4 separate regions of the Homo sapiens genome follow, and all the other regions are linked to region 4. Evidence: promoter capture Hi-C in human tissues and cell types (Jung and others, 2019). All regions are on one chromosome and are shown on one strand. The core of a region is centred on a gene start or on the middle of the fragment in contact, and the rest is flanking DNA. Distances in the headings are between cores, read along the strand shown.

Region 1 (3,340 bases), core at 555-3,054, 450 kb after region 4:
CTTCTCCATTTTCTTCCTGGTAAACCATTCTATACTGTTTCAAGATAATCAAATGTGATTATCTTTTTTTTAGAGGCATCGTGGTAGTCTCATGTCGAGATGTGTACTTACCCTTTTAAATAAGGATGAGAAATAATTTCAGTATTGCCTGAAATTATATTTATTTTAAGGTTACTTGAGTGTGTACAACATAAAGATAGTTATAAATATCTTTTTATAGCTGTTAAATAGCTAAAATATCCAAAGCAATTAAATATAAAAATTATAAAGTCAGAAACATTCCAATTAATATTTAATGTGACAGATGAGTTTGTTTGCTGAAAGCTTTCATTTTCCAGCTCTTTTTATTTATGCTCAGAGCATCCTGCAGGGAGACTTCGTGATGGTGACTGCTCATTGCTGGGTGTTAGGGCTGATAGCACAGCCAAGACCAGTTTGAATGCTGGCTCTACTGTCAGTAAGTATGAGCATTGTTTGAGATGAATCCTCTGCCACTGAGTATCCAGGATCAAAGCAACTTGCATGTCTCATTAGGTTCTTTGGAAAATGGGGGCTTTTGTTCATTGTACATCTGAAACTTGGATGTTGTAGTTATCCCTGAAATGGAGCCACTTAGCTCTGGAGAAATCAAACATGTGCAGAAAGCAGGTGACTGCTTCCATACGTGGCCTCTTGTAGTTTCTTGGGTCCTAGCCTCTTCCTCTGTTAGTGTATGGATGTCTCTGGAGTCCTTAATACTGGATTCTCCTGTGCTCTCTGTTGGCAGATGAGCTCAGAGGCTGGGGAAGGCATTGCTTCCAGGAGGAGCAGCCTGCCCCGGTCACGCCCCAGTTCCTGCTCTGTGACACTGATAGATCAGCTGACCTCTCTGAAGTGCACTCTTTACCACACTGAGGTAGAGATAATGGCCAGTGAGTAGGTTCTGTATAAAGATTAAGTGAAATAACATTTGTAAAGTACCAAAACACAGTCTGGCTTATAGTGGTGCTCGATAAATGTTCTTCCCCGTCTTCTTTCATAGTCTTCTTGAAGTTGACTATACAGAAAGGCCTCATAAAAATCAGGGGTTCATTTAATAAATATTTAATAGTTGTCATGCCATACTTCTGTCCCAGGAGTGTACAGTCTGAGTGTCATCACGATCTGCACAGTTAGCTGCCATAGCTCTGATGACATCACATGCAGGTGTGGAGGTGGGGGCTGGCGTGGGGGTGGGGGCTGGCAGGGTGGGAGCTGTTGTGGGGGTGGGAGCTGTTGGGGTTGGAGCTGTTGGGGGGCGGGAGTTGTTGTGGGGGCAGGAGCTGGCGTGGGAGCGGGAGCTGGCGTGGGGGCGGGAGTTGGCGTGGGGGCGGGAGTTGGCGTGGGGGCGGGAGTTGGCGTTGGGTGGGGAGCTGGCGTGGGGGCAGGAGCTGGCGTGGGGGCGGGAGTTGGCGTTGGGTGGGGAGCTGGCGTGGGGGCGGGAGCTGGCGTGGGGGCGGAAGTTGGCGTGGGGTGGGGAGCTGGCGTGGGGGTGGGGGCATGGGCTGCAGAGGTTGAGGATTTTAGCTTAGCTCCCGGGGCCCTCTGCTCGTGGGAATCAATCTCCAGCACAAGACATCCCCTCTGGTTCCTTATATCCGGTTTGATAGGGCTTTTAGCTGAACTTCAGCCCTGCCACCTGCCTGTGCTGGGCTGATAATCGCCTCTCTTCCAGAGTCTCATGGAGTCGTCACAGGCCAAGGGTCTTCAAACTTGGCTAGAAGTCAAGTCCCGGGTCTCTGTGTTTTTTCAGGATACTATGTTTAAATGGGGGAACCCAGAAATGGGATGCAAAAATAAACAAGTGTAACGTCTGGGTAGTGGTTTATGGTTCCGTTAAAATTTTTTAACCAATAATAGTCCGTATGGGAGTATGGACTCTTTTTCCTCTCAATTTATGTTGGCATTTGTAGAATACTCCAGGGTGGTGTGAGAAAGACATCTCCTGGTTCAAGATTTCCTAGGGGCAAAAAAAGAATACAAAATAATAACGTGGTGCCCTAGCTGGGCGTGTAATTCTGTGCTCTGTTAGCACAATCAGCCTTGCTGTCCTTTGTGGATGCTCAAGTCCCTGATATAAAATGATGGTGCATATACTTAGAACACACAGACATCCACTCATAGACTTTACATCATCTCTAGATTACTTATGATACCACATACAATATAAATGTTGTGTAAATAGTTGTTATACTATATTTTAAAAATTTGTATTGTTTTTTATTTTTTAGACAGGGTCTTGCTGTGTCACCCAGGCTGGAATGCAGTGGCGCCATCGTAGCTCACTGCAGTCTCAACCTCCTGGGCTCAAGTGATCCTCCCGTCTTGGCCTCTTGAGTAGCTTGGACTACAGGCACATGCCACCACATCTGGCTAATTGTTTATTTTTTGTAGAGACGGAGTTTTGCCATGTTGCCTAGGTTGGTCTCAAACTCCTGGGCTCAAGCGATCCTCCTGCCTTGGCCTCCCAAAGTGCTAGGATTACAGGTGTGAGCCACTGCGCCTGGCCTATTTTTTATTGTTTTATTGTTATTTGTATTTTTGCCTCAATATTTTCAGTCTGCAGTTAGTTGAATCTGCAAATGTAGAAACTGTGGATACAGAGGGCTGACGGTACAGCTGTAGAGATTGTACAGAAGAAAATACATTAATAAATGTTTCTAGATGCCATATTGTATTTTAAAGAATTCCTTTAAAGAAGCTATATTCCAGTTGCCAAGTAGACAACAGGCCTCCAGACTCCCTAAGGAGATGGGGGTGTGCCCATTTCACACGAGGGTTCTGTCCTAGGCTTGCTGGGTCCGCCAACCCTGAGGGAGAGACCAGCCACAGCTGCTGTTGGGTTTGCCTGACTTTTATTTTTTTGTTTTTGTTTTTTTTTAGACGGAGTCTCTCTCTGTCGCTCTGTCGCCCAGGCTGGAGAGCAGTGGTGAGATCTCAGCTCACTGCAAGCTCCGCCTGCCTGGTTCATGCCATTCTCTTGCCTCAGCCTCCCAAGTAGCTGGGACTACAGGCACCCGCCACCACACCTGCCTAATTTTTTGTATTTTTAGTAGAGACAGAGTTTCACCCTGTTAGCCAGGATGGTCTCTATCTCCTGACCTCGTGATCCACCCACCTCGGCCTCCCAAACTGACTTTTGTTTTTAATTTTTAAAAACTTTAATGCCCTTTTGCAGCAATAGGGTCTTACTATGTTTTCCAGGCTGATCTTGTATTCCTGACCTCAAGTTATCCTCCTGCTGTGGCCTCCCAAAGCACTGGGATTGCAGGCATGAGCCACTGTTCCCTGCTGGGTTTGTCTGACTTCTTAGGAAAATCAT
Region 2 (3,451 bases), core at 570-3,069, 420 kb before region 4:
ATAAAATTTTAAGACTAGACGGAAGCTTAACATGTCTTGCCTCCTCCCCGATTTTTATGTTTTTAGAGACAGGGTCTCACTCTATTACCAAGGCTGGATGGAGCACAGTGGTGAGATCATAGTTCACTGCAGCCTTAAACTCCCGGGCTCAAAAGATCTTCCTGTCTCCGCCTCCCAAGCAGCTAGGATTCCAGGATTCTATGATCTTGCTATGCTTCTCAGGCTGGTCTCAAAACACCTGGTCTCGGCCTCTCAAAGTGCTGGGATTACAGAAGTGAGCCACTGAGCGCCAGGCCTTCCTCCCCATTTTTAAAGATGAGTAAACAGAAGTCTTGCAAATGCTATTTGATTTTAAGAAGTTACATGAATAATGAATGGTATGATTCACCAATAAAGGGGCTTTTACAAAGGTCAGTGGTAATATAAATATTTCAAATTATGAAATAAATAAAAAATGAGTTATTTGCTTTAAAGAAAGCTTTCAAAAAATTCTTTTAAAACAGTGTACTCTTATGATACATCAAGTTTCTACTATAATATCATTATACCCCTACTATGAAACAGTGTATTACTGGAGAATTTGGTGAGCATACTGCACACTCTCAACGTGGAGGCAATGATGGCTAGAGCATGCTAGGAACGTATCAGAAAAAAATCAACTGACTTTCTAGTCTTAAAATTATTTTATCTCAGTCTTTGACACTTCTATGATACTCTATCTTTTCTCATTTCACATCTCCCTCTTTATTTATTTGTTTATTTTATAGATAGGGTCTTGCCTTGTTGGCCAGGCTGGTCTTGAACTCCTGGCTTCAAGTGATCCTCCTGCCTTGGGCTCCCAGAGTGCTGTGATTACAGGCATGAGCCACTGTGCCTGGCCTCCCTCTTATTTCATACCTCAACTTTACATGGTACCCCCCCATCCCATTTATGTGCATATGCAGGACCATCATCCCCTAACACCAGCATGTGCATGCCCACACATTCTCTCATAAACTCTCTTCTCTCCAAAGCCAAATCTTAGTCTTTCTGACTCACATATTCTCTCTCCAGAACTGCTCAGAAACCTACATCAAAGTATCTACCTCCATTTTCTTCAGAACTCTCTCTTTAGTTTCATCTAATAATGCATTTTATGTGACACTCTTAGAGGAAAATAGCAATAACTTCTATGTAGTGGAACACCTTTGCCGGACTGAAGGGTATGATGAGGATGAAAATGCTGTTATCAGCAGCACTGAGAACTTACTTCTATGTGAATCTCTAATCTCTCTAAGCCTCAGTTTACTAATTTGCAAAGAGTCACAGGATTGTTACAAGGATCAAATGGAGTAAGGAAGAGAAGGCATTTTATAAAGGAGCTGTATGAATATGACAGTAAAGTAGCAGGGGTTAAAGTTTTAGGTAATGATAAATAATTTTATTTAACAATAACAAAACTGGGGACTGATGATCAAAAAATTACCTGGACCACAATAGATTAAAGGATACTACCATTAATATAATTTCATTTTCTCCAATAAAAAATTTTACAATTGAAACTGCCCCCTCTGCACAGCACAGGCTCACCAGCTACCCCTGCAGTATGGCTCTGGAATATGGTGGTGTCACTGGCAGCAGGGCAGGGTGGCTCTTCTTTCATACAACCTGATGCACTCGATGGATTGCTTAGACAGTGCCTCCAGCTATACTTAACTTACAAGGATATCAAATTTCTTAGGAGACACAGTAATGTGTACTTATTTTCAAGGATATCACATTGCTTAAGAGACAAAGTAACAGCAGGCCTACCCAAATCTTTATCATTAAAAGAATGACCTTAAAGGAGTTCATTGGTTGTTTAAGAAGAAAATCATCACATCATGAAAGGGATTAGAATATAAACAAATTTGCTTTCTAAATAAATAGATGATGAACCAGATACTGTGCTTTATAAAGTAGCCAGGTTCAGTAAATGCACTTAACACTTTACAGAACAAGTATAACATTGGAAAACAGATGGTAGATTTTATATTTTAATAAATTGCCAATTTGCCATATAAGAAATTTAGTATAATTAAAGTACTTTTGGACTATCAAATCAGACACATTATCAGTAACTGAGCTCAAGTGTTCTGACACTATGCTTCCACCCCAATTTATATGCATTCATGCACACACATATACACAGATATAAGGTAGTTTGAAAAATTGTTGATACTCAATTTTTAATTTCGTTGAATCAGTCTATTGTTTCAAAAATTCCACTTGGTACACACTAACTCATAGGTATAAAGAATGATTCTTAAAATATATTAAGTATTTTGGGATCTTCCGAAAAAAGTCAAATTAACAAATAGTATTTATTAGTGTGAAAACAGTATTTTTGAGAAAAGGCTGAAACCATTTACATACATAAACTAACATGTATAAAAATGTTCTATCATTTCAAGAAAACCTTATACATTGCAGAGGTGAAAGAAACTTACATTCCTGAAACCTGAGTGTTGATAGGCAATTTATGTGCTTTCTTTGTCTAGGAAGTCACTCAAGATGAGAGAAGTGATGACAGGAGCTTCAAAGGAAGAAGGGTGTTTCAACAAGGATGAAGGCTGATTACTGGCAGGCAGCAGAGGAGAGACAGAATATTAGCAAACCCACCTCAATCGAAACAGGGAGATGTAGAGGAGAGATCGGCTTCCCGCAGGAGGAAAGCAAGAGAAAGCACTACCCTTAGGGGAACAAGTGTTGTCAGAAGAGCCTGAGGGGACTCTTTTCAAAATGGAGTGCAGTTTCCAGAGAAGACTGGGAAAGGGTGAGATGGAGATCAACGGAGTAGAAACAGAGGAGAAGGAGATATGAAAACAGGATGGAACTAATGCCTATAAAGTCCTAGTCTTGGGGTGGTGACAGAGTGAGAGATGTGGCTGGAGCTTCAACCAGTTGTGAGGGCCCAACCTCGGTCAGCCTGGCCAGTTTCTGCAGGCACTGCCACACAGCAGTTTTACTCCACCTGTCAGCTTTTTCTTTAAATAAACTTTAATAATGTTTGAGCCTCTTTTTGAAAGTGTGTTTGCATATCTTGCAAAGCAAAATTTTAATCAAGAGCAAAAAATTTTTTTTTACATCAGATGAGTAATGTGCTGACATAACAAGGTTTAGAAAAAGGAACATCTCGCACACAAGTGTGAATATCCAATCATCACGCTTAGGAACTGCAAAAGGATCAAGAGCAAACATTTTTTAAATGCTCACTGCAGTAGAGTAGTAAAAATACTAATATTGTTCTATTTAAGCTCAGAAATAGTTTCTAAGAATGCCAGTGTTGGAAGGACTTTAAGAGCTCATTTAATTTCCTCTATTAACAAATTTGCTTTCTAAATAAATAGATGATGAACCAGGCACTGTGCTTTATAAAGTAGCCAGGTTCATACATGTACACCCTAAAAATAATGCTCTGGGGAAGGCAATC
Region 3 (3,538 bases), core at 53-2,552, 280 kb after region 4:
ATGGAGGAGGCCAAATGCTGTTGTGTGAATGTTTGTGTGTCCCAGAAACTCCTCAATTGAAACATAACTCCACTGTGATAGTATTGATAGTATTGAGCGATGGGGCTTCTAGGAGGGGATTAGGTCACGAGGCTTCTCCCTCATGTGTGGGATTAGTGCCTTTATAACAGAGGCCGGAGGAGCTTGTTCACCCCTTCCACCACTCGAGGACTCACAGAAGGTGCCATCTATGAAGAATGGGCCCTCACCACACACCAGATCTGCCGGCACCTTGATCTTGGACGTCCCATCCACCAGAACTAGGAGCAACACATTTTTGCTGTTTCTAAATGACCCCATTGAAGGTATTTCGTTACAGCAGCACGGCTGGACTGAGACATAGACCTCGGGCTGAGACTTAGCAAAAGAACAGATTTTTTTTTAAGGTGAACAAACAGGGAAAGAGTAATCTAGTGGGTTGCAGCGAGAAAATATTAGAACGCATATACTTATTTTTACTCCATTTTTCAAACTTTGTATATTATGTGTACAATGTACTATTACCATAGTATATGTATATAATTTATAATTTATAAATAAATATACATGACCTGTGTGCTTAGACATTTTTGCTTGTAGGAGTATATGCTTCAGAAAATTGGGGGCCCACAGGCGGGCAGTGGGAACATATGTTAAGACAGGGGGAGGGCAGGGCGGGCCATGCATGGCTGCAGGTGGGGGAAGAGGTGGGAGGGTGTCTGCGAGTGTCATGGGTAGATGCTACTGCTTACAGTGCCTGAAATTTCAAACTCAAACTCTAAATTACTTTTGTAGCTTTCAGTTGTTGTGAACTCAAAATCCACAGACCATATCTTGCTCCTTTGCCGCCCTGACTCTCCTAGGCTCCTCTTTCTGGTCCATGCTATCTGAACCCTCCAGGGCGAATCCTGACACAGGTCGGGGAGGGATTGAATACACCAGTTTGGTGATCAGAAATGTTGATAGGACTGCTTTATTTGTGTGGAGAAATCTTCCTTAGGAGGGTGAGATTATTTATTCATGCTCGGCGCAGGGGGACCCTTTTAGGGCCCACATGCATTTATAAGAATGGAGACTTGTAATCTGGTGAAGCTCATTCCTGATGTCCAGGGTGCTGCGGGGCTGCAGGGATGAGTGAAGGTTCTTTCCCTGCCTGCATGGAATGCGCGCCACGGGCAGCATCGTCTTCGAGTTCAGAGGCGTATAGATGTCTATGGGTGAGGCAAAAGGCAGGTGGTATGGGAGGAAGCGGGAGGGAGAAGGGCAAGAGGGGTCTGGACCGGTTTTGCTTGAGAAGAAATGGCAGTGGACACATGGCTCGTGTGAAAGGTGGGTGCACGCAGACAGGCCAGAGGCTTTTGGGAGCGGGAGTGAACCTGGGCACGGGGCGCTGCTCTTGGTGAGCATGTCGGGTGGCCCTTGCCCTTTGGGTCACCATTCCTCCTGATTGCGGCCTGCCCGAGATCGCGTGAGTCTGGTTCTGGTGTGGAGCGTTTCCTCCCATCTTTGTCGAAAACCAAATCAACCAGCCACGAATGGTAAAGAAAAACAAGCCCATTAGAACACCTACCTTGATTTCATATCGAATTGTTTGCAGTGGGGAGCTCTGTCTCGACCACAGTGCTTTAATAGTTGATATTTGTTTACATTTCACAAAACGCTTACATTTCATACTGCATTCAGTTCACGACAGGAAGCCAGGTTTATCACTTTCGCATGGGAATAATAATGCCTTCTATTTGCAAAACGTGTAACTATTTAAAGCTTTTCACAGACAACATCTAATTTCATGTTCCTTGGCTTTAAGGAACAAATAATCAATGAAATGTACATAGAAGTATAATTAATGGATTTGTTTCTTCTTCTCTAATGTGGCTATTAGCTGAATGAGGAATTCAGGCCAGAGTTTATGTTATTTTAATGTGTGAAACCTAATTGGAATGTGATGCCCAATGGTTGTCCAAACCACATGGCAGGCTGTTTTCTGAAGGTCATTGGTCCCAGGGATGGCAGCTTGGTGGCTGGGCAGGCACCCACCTAGTCGATGTCATTTTGGGAGGTCAAGGGTATAGCACTAAAAACTGAATTCGAAGATACACATAGTTACATCAAGGGGACTGAGGGGGCACCCCGTGAAGCTCTCTCCTGGTGGGCCATGCAGGATGGAGTGTGGCGCGAGTACGGTGCAGGCTGGGGCCACCGCAGGGGCCTGCTCTCATCTCCTCCCTGTTAGAGGAGCGTCTTCTGGGCGCTCTTGTGGGACTTAGGAGTATGTCCCAGGTCCTGAGCAGTGCAGAGACTTGGCCTGGTGCCAGCAGTGAGGTGGATCTGCCAGTGTGGCCCCTCTCCTGTCCCACTCGCCTCCCGCCTCTGTCTGTGGCCTGTGCCCCTTTTTGCCTGGCATGGTTTGAGCTTCTGTCCTGGTACAGTTTGTTCGGCTGTGGATGCAAGTTGACTTCAGTTCTGTTTCTCCCCTTTCAACAAAATCACCTTCCTTCCCCGCGTGGCCTTGTCCGGGGGCTGCTGCTGCCCCGTGCTGTGCTCCACAAGCCTCCGTGTAAATCGCCTTCCTTCCCTGCGTGGCCTTGTCCGGGGGCTGCTGCTGCCCCGTGCTGTGCTCCACAAGCCTCTATGTCACCTCGTGCTGCCGCATCCCTTCCCCAGCTCAGCTATTCACTGTTGTCTGCAGCTCTGACTCTTCCGCTGTGGCTGCCAAGTCCCCTGATCCCCTGCTTGCGTTCCAAGTGGAAGCCGTGTGCGCCGTTCACACTGGCTTCGCAGCTTCCTGCTCTCTCCTCCGCAGCCCAGGAAGCGCCACCTCCAGCCATGCTCCCTGGAAGCTGCGTGTGGGAGAGGCGCGTGCCAGCTGTGATGCTCGTCCGAACTCAGCTCCGGACCCGAAGCTGGCAGCAGGGAGAGAAGGCTGCCACGTCTGCTGGCTCTCCCTGGTGTGGTCCTCCTGGTTCCCTGAAGGGAACAGGAGCCAGCGTCCTCATGACCAAGGCTTCAGCTCATTGTTAAAATGATTAGGTGGCAGGTGAGGCGCTTTCTGATCTCCCCTGGTCATGAGTTGTGTGATCAATGAGGACTCTAGACGATGGCAGAGGATCTGCTTGTCGCCACACACAGTGCGTTAGGGATGGAGCTTGCCACCAGTGGCGCCACCTCTTTGCAGGCGCCTGTCCTGAAGGACGTGAGCGGGCGAAGTGCTCTTGGGTCTGCTTGGACACGGGTCACTGGCCGCTAAGAAGGCAAATGCCATGCCGTTCAGATACGTTCTCTGCTACTGGATGATGTAGTGCTGCTGTGATGTAGCAAATGCATTGGCTTGTTGACTGTTAAGAGGTGGCAAGACATCAAGGGACCCTCTGGCTTGCTCTTGGGTTGGCAAGGTTGGCAGAGGGGCCCACTGCTCAGAGCCCAGTAAGAGGCGGGACAGCTGTGTTTGGAAGTGGGCCAAGGAAGCCGGCACCCTCTTATTGGAAATATTCTCCATCCTGTGACCTGTTTGTCGCTGTCT
Region 4 (3,619 bases), core at 655-3,154:
AACCATGCAGTCAGTGGAAAGATCAGCGGTTGCCAGGTGTTGTCGGAAGAAAGGGATGAACAGGAGCACTAAGGATTTTCAGGGCAGTCAAACTATTCCGCGTGATACTATAATGGTGGATCCATGTCATTATATATTTGCCAAAACCCACAGAATAAAACACCAAGAGTGAACCCTAATGCAAACTCTGAATTTTGGGTGATAATGATGTGTCAATGTAGGTTCACTGATCATAACAAAGGTACCACTTTGGTATGGGATGTTGACAGTGGAGGATGCTGTGCATGTGTGACAGTAGGGGTACATACGGGAACTCTATTTTCTGCTCAATTTTGCTGTGAACCTGAAAGTGTTCTAAAAACTAAAGTCTATTTTAAAAAATCCACTGTTTCACCTAATTCAACACTTCACTCCCACTCTGATAATCTCTGGCAACCAATGATCTGTTTACTGTCTGTATTTAAATTTAATTAAAACAATTTTTAAACTGTTTTGATATTTTTATAATAATCAATATATTTTGATTGGACTTTTATAGTGAGCACTTTCTTTGGAAATGAGTGTCTTTGACCTTCAAAAAAGTTATAGTTGTTATCAGTTATCATAAGAGGTGGGGCCCACCTCTTAAAGTAGCAATAAAATCTTATTTATGGTTGAAAAAGGTCAGGTCATTGCGCCACTTCTCTTTGCAGGTTTCTGTGCAATCCATCAGGGGACAGCTGGGACTAATCATTTAAAAAACTTTCCAGCCTGCTAATTTTACCATACCTCACATTTTTGTCATTCCTGGCCAAAATCCAAAGGGCAAGTCCCTTCTGCAGCCTCATTTTTTTTTTTTCTGTACTTTCGCTCCCCTGACGCAAGCTTCCACTGTCTCCCATCCTAACTTTACCACTACGCCCTCTAGAATGCCTTTTCCTGATAAGCAAAACCCCCCGAGTCGTTGGCTCCTCCACTTTCCGGTTTTGGCAGAATCCTTGATCTGAGCCAGGCCTCTTCCCAGGGGCTCTGGCCCTCTTCACTTCCTTTTCCCCGGAGGACTCTGGCTCCCGGGTAGCAAGCAGCCCACTTCCCCGGCCGCTTCCTTCCCCCGGGATGACACGTTTCTACAGGCGGACTCTTCTAATTCATACTATTTCCCTACCCCCGTGGTGGCTCCTAGCACCCCCAGGCCTGTTCTACCTGTAAAATCTTGACACATTTAAACTACTACTTCTGATCCTTTCCTCCCCGTCCAGCCTTCGCTCTTAGGCTGCCGAGCCTGGACTGCTTGTCATCCCCTCAGGCGTCTCCCCGGCCCTCCCTGCTCTTCAGCCGTCCCGACGGAGCGCGGCTCCTGACCAAACCCACGGTTCGTCTTCTCCACCTGCTCCGCGCGCCTCGCATGTGTCTGGGGGGAAACACATCCAAACGTCGACTTAAATGATTCAGGGCCGAGGACCGTGAGAGGCAGTCTTCACTTTTTCATCTTTCTTCATTTGCACAGTATACCAATAAGCTCTTACTACTTCTCAGCACAGGTAACTCGCCTTTTGCAGAGCACCCTCCGCCGCCGAACGGTCAGAGCCTGGAGGAACCCGCACCAGGATCGTAGGGCATGACGGGCCGGGGGCGGGACGAGGATTGACGAGCCGGGAACAGGGCGGGGCTTGAGGGGGCGGGAGGGTGGGGCGAGGCATGACGGCTCTGGTGGGAGGGTAGGCGGGGCTTGACGGGCCTGGGGGCGGGGCGGGGCTTGAGGGACCGGAAGGTGGGGCGAGTCATGACGGGCCGGGGCGTGGGCAGGGCTTGAGGGGCCAGGGGACTGTGTGGGGCCTGACGGGCCGGTGGGTGGGGCGGGGCTTGAAGGACCGGAGGGTGTGTGGGCGGGGCTTGATAGGCAGGGGCGGTGCGGGGGCGTGGGCAGCACAAGCCGTGCGCTCCCGGGCTGCGAGGTCTGGCTAGGCTACGGGCCACGCGCCGCCGCCGCTGCCGCCGCCACTGTCCTCTTCGGAGGCGCGGGCCCGACGGAAACCATGTTTGTGGCTCGCAGCATCGCGGCGGACCACAAGGATCTCATCCACGATGTCTCTTTCGACTTCCACGGGCGGCGGATGGCAACCTGCTCCAGCGATCAGAGCGTTAAGGTGCGCGCGGCGCTTGCGGGCGGGGCCGACCCCGGAAGGAAGGAAGGGGAGTGGGTGGGCGGCGCGGGGAACGGGGCTGTGTCTTGGTTCAGTGACGCCGCTGGAAGCTGTGGGGTGGCGGGCGAGCCCTGGCTGGACTGAGCGGAAGCCCTCCCCGCCCGCGTATTGTGGGGTCACGGCGGCCTCGCGGGCCGCCCTCCCGTGCGCCTGCGCAGCTGGTGCCACGTGCGCGCTCCCGCCCGCAGGGTACGCCGGGCCCTCTCCCAGGCCGCGCTGCCGGGGCTGCGGGCGGGAACCCAGGGGCATCCCACCGTCAGCCTCGGCGTCGTGGGTCTTGCCCGCGCTGTTCACCCGACGACCTGCAGTGGGACCTGGTGGGAGACTTTGCCTGGCTGGCGCTGCGTCGAGTTCTGTGCCCCGCCGGTGTTCTCTCACCAGGGCACATGGTTTTCTCCGTGGGTTCAGAGCAGAAGCTCACTTTGTTACGCCGAGGAAGAAAAATACAAACCATTTACATCCAATGATTTCCCTGCTTGCTGCCCAGGAATCGGAGGGTTTGTTTCTTGAAGTTCCCGTAAACGTCTGTAGACACTTCCGACAAGCAGAATTTCTTTTCTTTTTTTTTTTTTTTTTTTGAGACCGAGTCTCACTCTGTCACCCAGGCTGGAGTGCAATGGCACGATCTCGGCTCACTGCAACGTCCGCCTCCCGCTTTCAGGCGATTATCCTGCCCCAGCCTCCCAAGTAGCAGGGATTACAGGTGCACGCCACCACCCCCGGCTAATCTTTTTTTTTTTTTGTATTTTTTAGTAGAGACAGAGTTTCACCATGTGGGCCAGGCTGGTCTCGAACTCCTGACCTCGTGATCCACCCGCCTCGGCGCCTCGGCCTCCCAAAGTGCTGGGATTACAGGCGTGAGCCACCGCGCCCGGCCTACAAGCAGAATTTCTAATGTGGGGATGCTACATGAGATTTAGGAACCTCCCAGATGTGTTGCAGGATGAATGAAAGCTGGAGTGCGGATTATTTGGTTCTCGACAACTCCAGAGTAACTGGAAATCTGAAGGATAGTTTATCCTTTTTCACATTCGAGTTTGATACCAGTGATCTCTCAAAGATAAACTTTTTATAAATAGTGTTGCAATTTTTAAAAGATGTAGTTTCTTTTTTAAAACAAGTTTATTTTTGTTGTAATAAACTACGTTAACCGTTTTTTTTTTTTTTTTTTTTTTTTTTTTGAGACGGAGTCTTGCTCTGTCACCCAGGCTGGAGTGGGGTGGCGCAATCTTGGCTCACTGCAAGCTCCGCCTCCCGGGTTCACGCCATTCTCCTGCCTCAGCCTCCCAAGTAGCTGGGACTACAGGCGCCCGCCACCACGCCCGGCTAATTTTTTGTATTTTTTAGTAGAGACAGGGTTTCACCATGTTAGCCAGGATGGTCTCTATCTCCTGACCTCGTGATCCGCCCACCTCGGCCTCCCAAAGTGCTAGGAT

Evidence for each region. Contacts are between HindIII fragments. The study calls those that stand out against the background at their distance.
Region 1: a fragment that was not itself captured here is called in contact with the fragment with the promoter of SEH1L in region 4 in 1 of the 25 tissues and cell types used here (spleen).
Region 2: a contact is called between a fragment that was not itself captured here and the fragment with the promoter of SEH1L in region 4, in 2 of the 25 tissues and cell types used here (dorsolateral prefrontal cortex and hippocampus).
Region 3: a contact is called between a fragment that was not itself captured here and the fragment with the promoter of SEH1L in region 4, in 2 of the 25 tissues and cell types used here (aorta and dorsolateral prefrontal cortex).

Annotation. Positions count from the first base shown.
Region 1 is chr18:13,394,256-13,397,595 of GRCh38, forward strand. All of the region lies in intron 3 of LDLRAD4 (low density lipoprotein receptor class A domain containing 4), which reads left to right. Among named protein-coding and RNA genes, the nearest start is that of LDLRAD4-AS1, 32 kb to the right of the region's middle. The HindIII fragment of the contact is 8,832 bases long and covers 1-3,340 here.
Region 2 is chr18:12,530,320-12,533,770 of GRCh38, forward strand. All of the region lies in intron 4 of SPIRE1 (spire type actin nucleation factor 1), which reads right to left. LOC124904371 (small nucleolar RNA U13) reads right to left here and starts at 3,206; the gene lies at 3,105-3,206. The HindIII fragment of the contact is 3,667 bases long and covers 1-3,451 here.
Region 3 is chr18:13,229,949-13,233,486 of GRCh38, forward strand. The region is part of intron 1 of LDLRAD4 (low density lipoprotein receptor class A domain containing 4); the gene reads left to right. Among named protein-coding and RNA genes, the nearest start is that of C18orf15, 7.8 kb to the right of the region's middle. The HindIII fragment of the contact is 7,303 bases long and covers 1-3,538 here.
Region 4 is chr18:12,946,107-12,949,725 of GRCh38, forward strand. SEH1L (SEH1 like nucleoporin) reads left to right here and starts at 1,905. Exons shown (of 9, transcript NM_001013437.2): 1 at 1,905-2,126. The coding sequence starts at 2,016. RefSeq lists silencers at 1,603-2,052, 2,093-2,442, 2,453-2,552 and an enhancer at 2,484-3,085. The HindIII fragment of the contact is 16,054 bases long and covers 388-3,619 here.